Regions from separate parts of the Homo sapiens genome. Here regions 1 and 3 are each linked to region 2. Evidence: promoter capture Hi-C in 16 types of primary human blood cells and fetal thymus (Javierre and others, 2016). All regions are on one chromosome and are shown on one strand. Each heading gives the region's core, a stretch centred on a gene start or on the middle of the fragment in contact. The rest is flanking DNA. Distances are from core to core; before and after follow the strand shown. Region 1 overlaps EAF2 (ELL associated factor 2). Region 2 holds the start of FAM162A (family with sequence similarity 162 member A). Region 3 overlaps IQCB1 (IQ motif containing B1).

The links. The method cuts DNA at HindIII sites, captures the fragments that hold promoters and counts their contacts. A CHiCAGO score of 5 or more calls a contact.
Region 1: a fragment that was not itself captured here is called in contact with the fragment with the promoter of FAM162A in region 2 in 1 of 17 cell types (M2 macrophages); the score reaches 5.0 in M2 macrophages.
Region 3: a fragment that was not itself captured here is called in contact with the fragment with the promoter of FAM162A in region 2 in 1 of 17 cell types (monocytes); the score reaches 5.0 in monocytes.

Annotation. Positions count from the first base shown.
Region 1 is chr3:121,849,659-121,852,573 of GRCh38, reverse strand. All of the region lies in intron 2 of EAF2 (ELL associated factor 2), which reads right to left. Among named protein-coding and RNA genes, the nearest start is that of EAF2, 16 kb to the right of the region's middle. The HindIII fragment of the contact is 2,049 bases long and covers 626-2,674 here.
Region 2 is chr3:122,382,657-122,385,500 of GRCh38, reverse strand. It overlaps FAM162A (family with sequence similarity 162 member A), which reads right to left and starts at 1,319. Exons shown (of 5, transcript NM_014367.4): 1 at 1,202-1,319. The coding sequence starts at 1,235. It overlaps MIX23 (mitochondrial matrix import factor 23), which reads left to right and starts at 2,270. Exons shown (of 5, transcript NM_001017928.4): 1 at 2,270-2,327. The coding sequence starts at 2,277. RefSeq lists enhancers at 1,135-1,184, 1,008-1,508 and a silencer at 1,275-1,424. The HindIII fragment of the contact is 2,247 bases long and covers 540-2,786 here.
Region 3 is chr3:121,806,150-121,808,945 of GRCh38, reverse strand. IQCB1 (IQ motif containing B1) reads left to right here. Exons shown (of 15, transcript NM_001023570.4): 6 at 1-30; 7 at 1,503-1,602. Among named protein-coding and RNA genes, the nearest start is that of IQCB1, 28 kb to the left of the region's middle. The HindIII fragment of the contact is 1,332 bases long and covers 665-1,996 here.

The DNA.
Region 1 (2,915 bases), core at 401-2,900, 530 kb after region 2:
AAATAAAGGAACAGTTGTTTGTGGGTTTTTTACCTCTCCCAAAGACTAAAGTAATCTACAGAAAATCAAGAATGCACAACACGTAGATGAAGACATGTCTGGGCTAGCTCTAAAACGGTTAGATGTGGAGCACTTAGTTGAAGCCCTGGTAAGCTGGAGAGTCAGGAGCATGATTATAACCAAACAAAGTGGGTCTACTTGGCTGGTAAGTAAATTTTTCAGATGTGTTGACTGAAACAAGTAAGATACCCCAAAATAGTTACCTAAGGACTCCAAATTACAGTTGATAAGAGATTTGTGCAAGATATTCTTAATGATATCTGTACTCTTAATTAGAATGGAATACATCTAAAAATTACAATGTATTATTGTTCTCTGAGCTCCTGAAAATAAGAACTAATCATTAATTTTTAAAAAATTGCTCTCAGCACCTGAAGAAGTATCAAGACCTTTATAAATATTCAATGAAGGTTAAATATGAATAATATAGACAATTTCTGGTCATAAGTAACAAATGAAACAAATCTTTCATAATCTCTACACCTGCCATCTACATTTTGAACAAGTTTTATAAATGTAAACTTTCTCCCTCATTAAATTGAACACCATTCCTAACTTTTAAGCTTCAGTTTCTGTCCATTCCTTATTCAATACCCCAAGAAAGGCAACTACTAAAGTACCAGACAACTACTAAGCATATGAACTATCATTGCCTCTAAATAACTATTGAATACCACCTATCGGCTCCATGTTCACTGTGATGACACACCTTCAATCGTCATTCACCTAGATTATTGTTATTCTCCTCCCTACTCTCTTTCCAATTTTGTTCCCCATTCTGTGAGCAGGCAAATCTAATCGTATTGTTCCCTTGCTTAAAAATCTTTCTGTGCTTAAAAAACTGTGTATTCAGATAAAGCCATATTCCATAAACCTGCACATGGACCCTCCATGATCTTCTCATCTACTCTCCAACTTTCTTAATTTGCCACTGTTTACAAACCACATAGAATTGCTTATAATTGGTTCACATGAATGACTGACTTAGGATTGTCAACCAAAAGACAAAACTGTAAAATAAAATATAAAATAAGTGAGTGGGTCATGTGTGGTGACTCATGCATGTAATCCCACCATTTTAGATGGCTAAGGATCACTTGAGCCCAGGAGTTTCCGACCAGCATGGGCAACATGGGGACAACCTGTGTCCACAAAAAAAAAACTAAAAATTAGCTGGGCATGGTGGTGCACATTTGTAGTCCTAGCTGCTTGGAAGGCTGAGGCAGGAGGATTGCTTGAGCCCAGGAGTTGGAGGCTGCAGTGGGCTATAATTGTGCCACTGCACTCCAGCCTGAGTGGCAGAATGAAATCTTGTCTCTAAAAAATAAATAAAATAAGTGCGTGCATATGTTATTTGAGGGAATAAAAGGACTCTTAACCATACAACAAAGGAATCAGAACCAACACCTCAACATAGGGGAATGAAGAGAAAATATAAATATAAATAAAAGAAGTGATAAAAGAAATCTGGCTATTTATATATACTTAACTTTAAATGGATAAGAATAGACTTGGCCGGGCACGGTGGCTCACGCTTGCAATCCCAGCACTTTGGGAGGCCAAGGGAGGTGGATCATCTGAGGTCGGGAGTTTGAGACCAGCCTGGTCAACATAGTGAACCCCCAACTCTACTAAAAATGCAAAAAATTAGCTGGGCATGGTGGCGGGCACTGCCTGTAATCCCAGCTACTTGGGAAGCTGAGGCAGGAGAATTGCTCGAACCCAGGAGATGCAGGTTGCAGTGAGCCAAGATTGCGCCACTGCACTCCAGCCTGGGTGACAGAGTGAGACTCCGTCTCAAAAAATAATAAAAAAAAGAATAAGAATAGACTGTCTGAGAATGTATAATGTAAGAGCTAAATAAGTATTCTTGACATGAAGATATTCTATAATGTAACACAATATCTTGGCAAAAACTTAGGTGCTTGGCTGAGGTGGAAAGAAAGAGAAGTGGAAGGGAGGAGAAAAAAAGTCTTATTATTAAGGGATAATAAATGTATTCTAAAAATCTCACTTGATAGAGGTAGGAAAATAATGGAGGAACTCAGTTTTCATATAAGAAAATAAAATCATATGCCTCATTATGAACACCAGGAAAAGAAAATAATCAATAATGGAATGGAAAAGTATACTAGTACTCCCAAAGTAATAAGAGTAATCAAAAAAAGCAATGAAAAAAAAATCAAAGACAAAGGGAAAAAAAGAAATGGTTGGTAAAACTAATAAAGAATATAAAAGAAGAAACAACAAATATTTAAAAACTAATAAACTATAAGATAAAAATCAAGTATATCAATTTTGAACTAAATGTGAATAGACTGAATAGACAGTATTCTCCCAATAAAAATAGAAAGTGCCAAACTGGGTTTAAAAATAAAACAGCATACTATATTAACAAAAGATATACTTCATACAAAATGTCAGCTAAATAAAAGGAAGAAACACTAAGATTCTATGAATACACAAAAGAAAAAAAGTAAAGATAGCTATATAAATATCAGCTAAATAAAAGGAAGAGACACTAAGATTCTGTGAACACACAAAAGAAAAAAAGGTTGATATATATATATATACATACATATATATATATATCAGAGAAGTAGGCACTTAAGCTTAAAAACACAAAAATAGGACAAAAATGTTATTTTGTAATAATTAAAGATATACTTCATTAAAAAATATAACTTTAAAACAATGTTAAAATAGGACTCTGGTCCTAAAATCAGATGAGGTCCCAAGAATGTAATGGACTATGTTCCTGTGTCGGCTAAGTAAACCCATTGGAGAAAACCAGACTAGGTTCATTTGGGAAGGGACTTTGCCCAAGAGGGTCATCTGGAGTACCCCTCATACAT
Region 2 (2,844 bases), core at 70-2,569:
TTTACAGAGCAATGATCCTTTCACTTGCCTTGTTGAAAAGCTTCATAATGTTAATAGGATGTACAGAAGATATTTTAGGTGAATTAGTTCAACAAAACTGACAAAATCAATGAAATCATAGTATTGAGGATTTTAGTGGAAGAAGTGTTTGCTTTTAAAGGAAGTAAATATAATAATACTCTCTAGTTTGAGACATGTTTTCCAGTCCATTCTCTACCGGAACACTAGATAAGCTGTGTAAAGGATAATCTTGAGGTGGGGAAGGTTATGTATCAAACTTGTGAAACTATGCAACATTCACTCTTTTTTTTTGCATTACTTCATTTACATTACAATATATATTTATATTATTTGAATAGCCAAGTTTGGGGCTATTTTTCCTTTAAAAATTTAATTAACAACTTTTTAATAATGTAGTGTGTGCCATTGAACAAAAGATCTCTGGTACCCAGAAAAGAGTCAAAATGCAAGCCCTCTGATTTCTCAACCCCTACTATGCCAAGGCTCTGCTGGTTCTCCCAAAAAAAAAGAATTAAGCTTTCATTACCTAAGTCCAAAATAGTCATCACACAAATGTCTACCACCAAAACAAACTGCAGATCCTTCAATTACACACTTCCTCCAAGAAATTCGAATCAATTAATTGTATAAGTGTTTAAAAGTAATGTATCCTCCATTTTAAGAAAACAATTATTATTAATCTCTAAGACCTAAATCCTTGGCCTAATCAGACATTTAATGAGTGGGGAAACTTCAGACTGGAGGTTTTCTGGGATAAACTCCAGAGAGGAAGGAGCAGGGGGAAGAGGGAAGACTCAAGGAGAGCAATAGATAGGGGAGGTTAGGGTGGAAAGCTGAATGCATGGGTAAAGGGGAGGTCTAGGGATAGTAGGTGCTTTACAGACTGAGCTCAGGGGAGGCTGAGGACGGGGGTGGGGAGAAGGGTAGGCGCGTGGGCAGTTAAGTTGGTGGGAGCTGGGTGGATGGAGATGAGGGTAATTCACGGGCAGTCTCCAATGCCTATCAGCAGCTGCTCACCTAGTTCCCTCCCACATGGCTACTAAGTAGGTAGGATTCTGAGGAACCGAGAAAGTGCGTCATGGAATGGAGCCACTCCGGGGCCCAGGAAGGCTTCAGGATTCCCCCACCCGCAGCGGCCGGGCCAGCTCCCCTACCTCCCATATCCCGACCGGCGTCTCACCTGCTGCCAGGCGCAGACCGCTGAGGCTCCCCATGGCCACTTGCTACTCCGCCGACCAGCGCAGAACTTCGCCGGGGACGGTGGCGCTGGTGAGCTCAATGTCACCCAGCGTTGGAGTGGGAAGGACGCAGGCGGCGCCGGGGGGCGGGGCGTGCGCGACGCGGTGTACAGGCCTGCGCCAGTGCGGGGCGTGTAGGACGTGCGCCACGCGCTGGAGACCCGCGGCGCCAGCCTAGTGCCCCTGGCGCCGCATCCTGAGCCAGCCTCGGAGATGGTCCTGTGGAGTGTGGCGCCGTGGGCCCTTGCCCTAGCGGATATGTACCCATGGGAGTACCTGTGTGAAATAGAAAGGAAATGTGCAACTTTCGTGATCTGTAAACTCCCGAAATACACCAGATAAACCAGTATTCCAGTATGCCGCTCTTCCAGTGTTTTCAATGAACATATGCTTTTATCAGAAAACACATAATTGGACTCTGCTCAGTGGCCCTATCTCTTGTTGGAGCATCCCTCAGGCTAATCTGAGAAATTAACATGTATGTTTTCAATTTGTTTTCTATTTACCTATTTTCTAAAAACATTTGATCATCTCCATCCTAAACACTTTACTCATACCCACCCACACTGCCAGAAATGCCGTTTTTTCTTGACGTTTCTTAGTGGTCCCAAATTCTTAACAAAGACCCCCCTGCTCCAGGGTCCGGGGAGGAGGTTAGGCACTGGAGTGAGAGGTATTAGAAAGGCCTCACTTGCCTAGATTTCCTTCAACGACCTGGTAGGGGAACCACAAGGAAATTGTTTCCCTTTTGTGAAAAGATGGGATTGGAGTAAACAGTCCCTTCAAGGTCTGACAATCTTTGATCCATGTATCTGGCCCAGTTCCAGGAGGACATGTTAAAAGGGTTGGGACAGCAGGGTGACAGGTTCCGAGGTGGATGCGGACCACGTTGAACTCAAGCCTTGCACTCAGCTTTCCTAAGGATTCCCCTCGTACTATATTTTTTGTCAGGCGACTCCGCGGTCACCTTTGCTCCGCGGTGATTGGCCTGCAGCGGGGTCCTCGTGTTTGTCCAATATGGCGGCGCCCAGTGGCGGTGTGAACTGTGAGGAGTTCGCCGAGTTCCAGGTGATGGGGTTTTCCTCATGTGGCAGGCATGTGCCTCCTTTTGTCCCCAGACCCTATTCCCTGCTTTGCGAGGGAGTATGAACCAGCTTTGGAAAAAGCGGGCAATTCAAAGCTCTTTTCTCGAGCCATTGGAGGTCATGGGGGGCGCGGGTTTGGCCTTAGGGAGCGAGGCTGCTCTGTAGGAGGAGGGAGGAGGGGGGTCATAGTTCTCTCCGCGGCTCTCCGGCCTTGTCTGGGAAGCTCTGGGTAATCTGCTGTGGTAAAGCTCGGGATGCGTGGATAAGGATTGTAACAATCTTGTAGCAGTTCCCTGAACTCAGTTTCCAGCTTCTGCCATTCCTCTCCTACTTTTGTAAGTAGAGTTTTTGTGGGAGAGAAGAAGGTGCAGAAGAGCTATTTAGTTGATAAAACATACTTGGTGCAATTTACTATTTTTGTGGGACAGGACGTATGGAAGCTTGGAGGGAGGATTAATTATAGTACCTGCTCTAGTGTCATTGCCCATTAGAGAAGATGT
Region 3 (2,796 bases), core at 81-2,580, 580 kb after region 2:
TGGGAGGCCATGTTGAACTTATTCAGAATGGTAAGAGAAAAGATTTTAATGTAACTAATAGCTATTGTAGAGTCAACTGCTAACAGTTTGATCGTTTTTTCCAAAAACAAATGCCACATGAACTGTGCAGATAACCACACTGAAATGAAACCATGTTGAAATAAGCTCACAATTTTTTAAAATGGATATTCCAGTTTTACATAGCCTACATCAACAATGTGAATATTAAATTAAGGAGAATACTGTTGAAATAAAACTTTAGCTTTTTCTGTTTAGCAAATCTAAGATAAAGACAAATGATAATTTGAGCAGTTTATTCCTAAAAATAACTTTTAAGTTTAAAAGATTACAGTCAGTGTTTTAGACCTATCATGAGAGAAATCCCTATGTTCAGGGTGGATATGATTTAACTCATATAGTCTAACTATCCAAGTAAGAGTAAGCTTTTATTTAATGACCTTTTAGTAAACTTGGAAGTTATAGGATATTTCTGTTTACATTGAGAGATATAAACATGTATGAGTTTTATGTTTTCTTAAGACTGAAAAAATAATTCTTAGTTACATTCATGGTGCTCTCCCTAGAAAAATTTCATCTAATATAGATGTAACACTCTTAAGAATATTTTTTAAGTAATACTTGAACTGAAATTTTACTTTAAGCTTTTCTCCTCAGAATCATTGCATGCACATAATTTAAAGAGTCAAATAGTTCTGTAAGGATCATTAAAACACACACAATCCCTGACCCTCATGCCCACTCCATTTCCCATTTTCCAAAGGCAACTACGTTCAGTTAGTATAACTAATACCTTTGGTAGTTATGCTCAGTTATTGAGCATGGAATGGAATGGAAACTGACATTTATTAGAAATGTTCCCTGTTCTAGGATATTTTACATTAGCTCATGTGAGAGCTATTATTTCTAGTTTTACAGATGAAGAAATGGTTTCTAAGAGGTTAAGCAACTTGTATAAGTATCCAGTGCTAAATCGTTATAACTGGCTGCTCAGAGCTTAAAGATTACAAATCAATAAAAGGAAATTTTTGTAGTTAGCGTATTCATTATTATATAAAACAATATGTCACAAAATTAAATTTTTTAAGGTTGTGAGCAACCAATTATAGTCATCTGTGCCATTTCCGTTTCCTTATATTCTGTCTTTGCAGGAAATTTGTTTTTATTCACTGAAATTCATTGATAGAAGAAAAAGATTCAGATTTAGGATATGATATTTTCAATTTAAAGAGATAACAATAGATTCTTAGCTTAGTATTTATGCCTATTTTCTGACTATATTCATAAAAATGAAATGACTTATTTATCGCTATTTAAAATTGCCATGAATTTTACATCTTAAAGTCTTCTTTATCGTAGAGTCTACAAAGTCAGAAAGTTTAGCAGAGATGGTCATGCTTTGATTTGGTTTGAAAAGAACAAAATCTTCCTTTGTTATCATAAAATCTTTACTTTAATCTTTCTTTTTTTTTCTTTTCCTTTAGTACTACAAAGTGATCATTTCTTACATTTACTGCAAGCTGACAATGTCCAAATAGGATCTGCAGTCATGATGATGCTACAGAATATACTACAGATCAACAGGTGACTTGGTTTTTACAAAATGTTACTGCTTTTTTTTTATCAGAAGCATTACCAATTTTATTCCAATTTTGCTAAAATTGACCGCATATGATTTGTATATAATGTATATACAAGTATATGCACTATATACTCGTATATAATGTATATACAAGTATATGCACTATATACTTGTATATAATGCTGAAGTTCCATCACCATTGTCTTTCAGAAAAATTAATATAAAATACTACAAAAGACTGGAAATTTATTATTAAATTGATACCTTATACCAGAGCTTAAGATTTTTAGCTCAAATCTCAGGCTTAAAGAAGAGAATTAGTGTGATAATCTGAAGAAAAATATTGAGATCACAACAAAAAATGTTTAATCACATTTATTTAATAAACTTCAAGCTTGGTATTTTTACAGATGCTCAAGAAGGGTATAAAAGAAGCAATTGGCAATTATTCAGGGTAACATGGAAGGGCAGAGTATACACAATTGAAATAATCCATTCTTTCAGTTTAGTATGAATTTATTATGCAGCTGCTGTCTGTCATTGCAATTATAGAGTTGATTAAGATATAAACCTTGTCTTCAAAGAGCTTACAATAGAATGGAAAACACAAACATCATTGTATACATTAAATTACAATATTAAAAGTGACCATAAATGTTAAAGGACCTTCTAACCCAAACCGAGGGGAGGTGCTTCCTGGAGAAGGTAATATCTGAGATGAAACTTCAAGGATGGTATATTGGCCAGGGAGGAAGAGGAGAAAGAGAAAGCAGTAATTCCAGGCAACATAAACAAAAGCACAGAGATAAGAAACAACATGCTGAGGATGAAAAGTAGGTACAAATTCATTATTGTTGGGATATAAAGTTCCATATAGGGAGGTGACTAGCAAGCTCGGCTGAGACTCAAAGTCATGAAGAATTTATATGCTGTGTTGAGGAAACGGAGTCTAATCCTATAGGCAACGGGGACCATTGAAGATTTTTAAAGTAGACGAAAGTGGTCAGATTACATTTCAATTTTGTTACTCTGGTGACTATGTGAAGGTAGATTAAGGGGAAGAAAACTCTAGACACAAAAGGCAATCATACTAATCCAAGTGAAGTAATGATAACTTGTCCTTGGGCATTGGTACCTGGGATATGGAGGTTTTAAAATAATGAATTAAAATCATCAGGACTTTACTTCCACTTCTG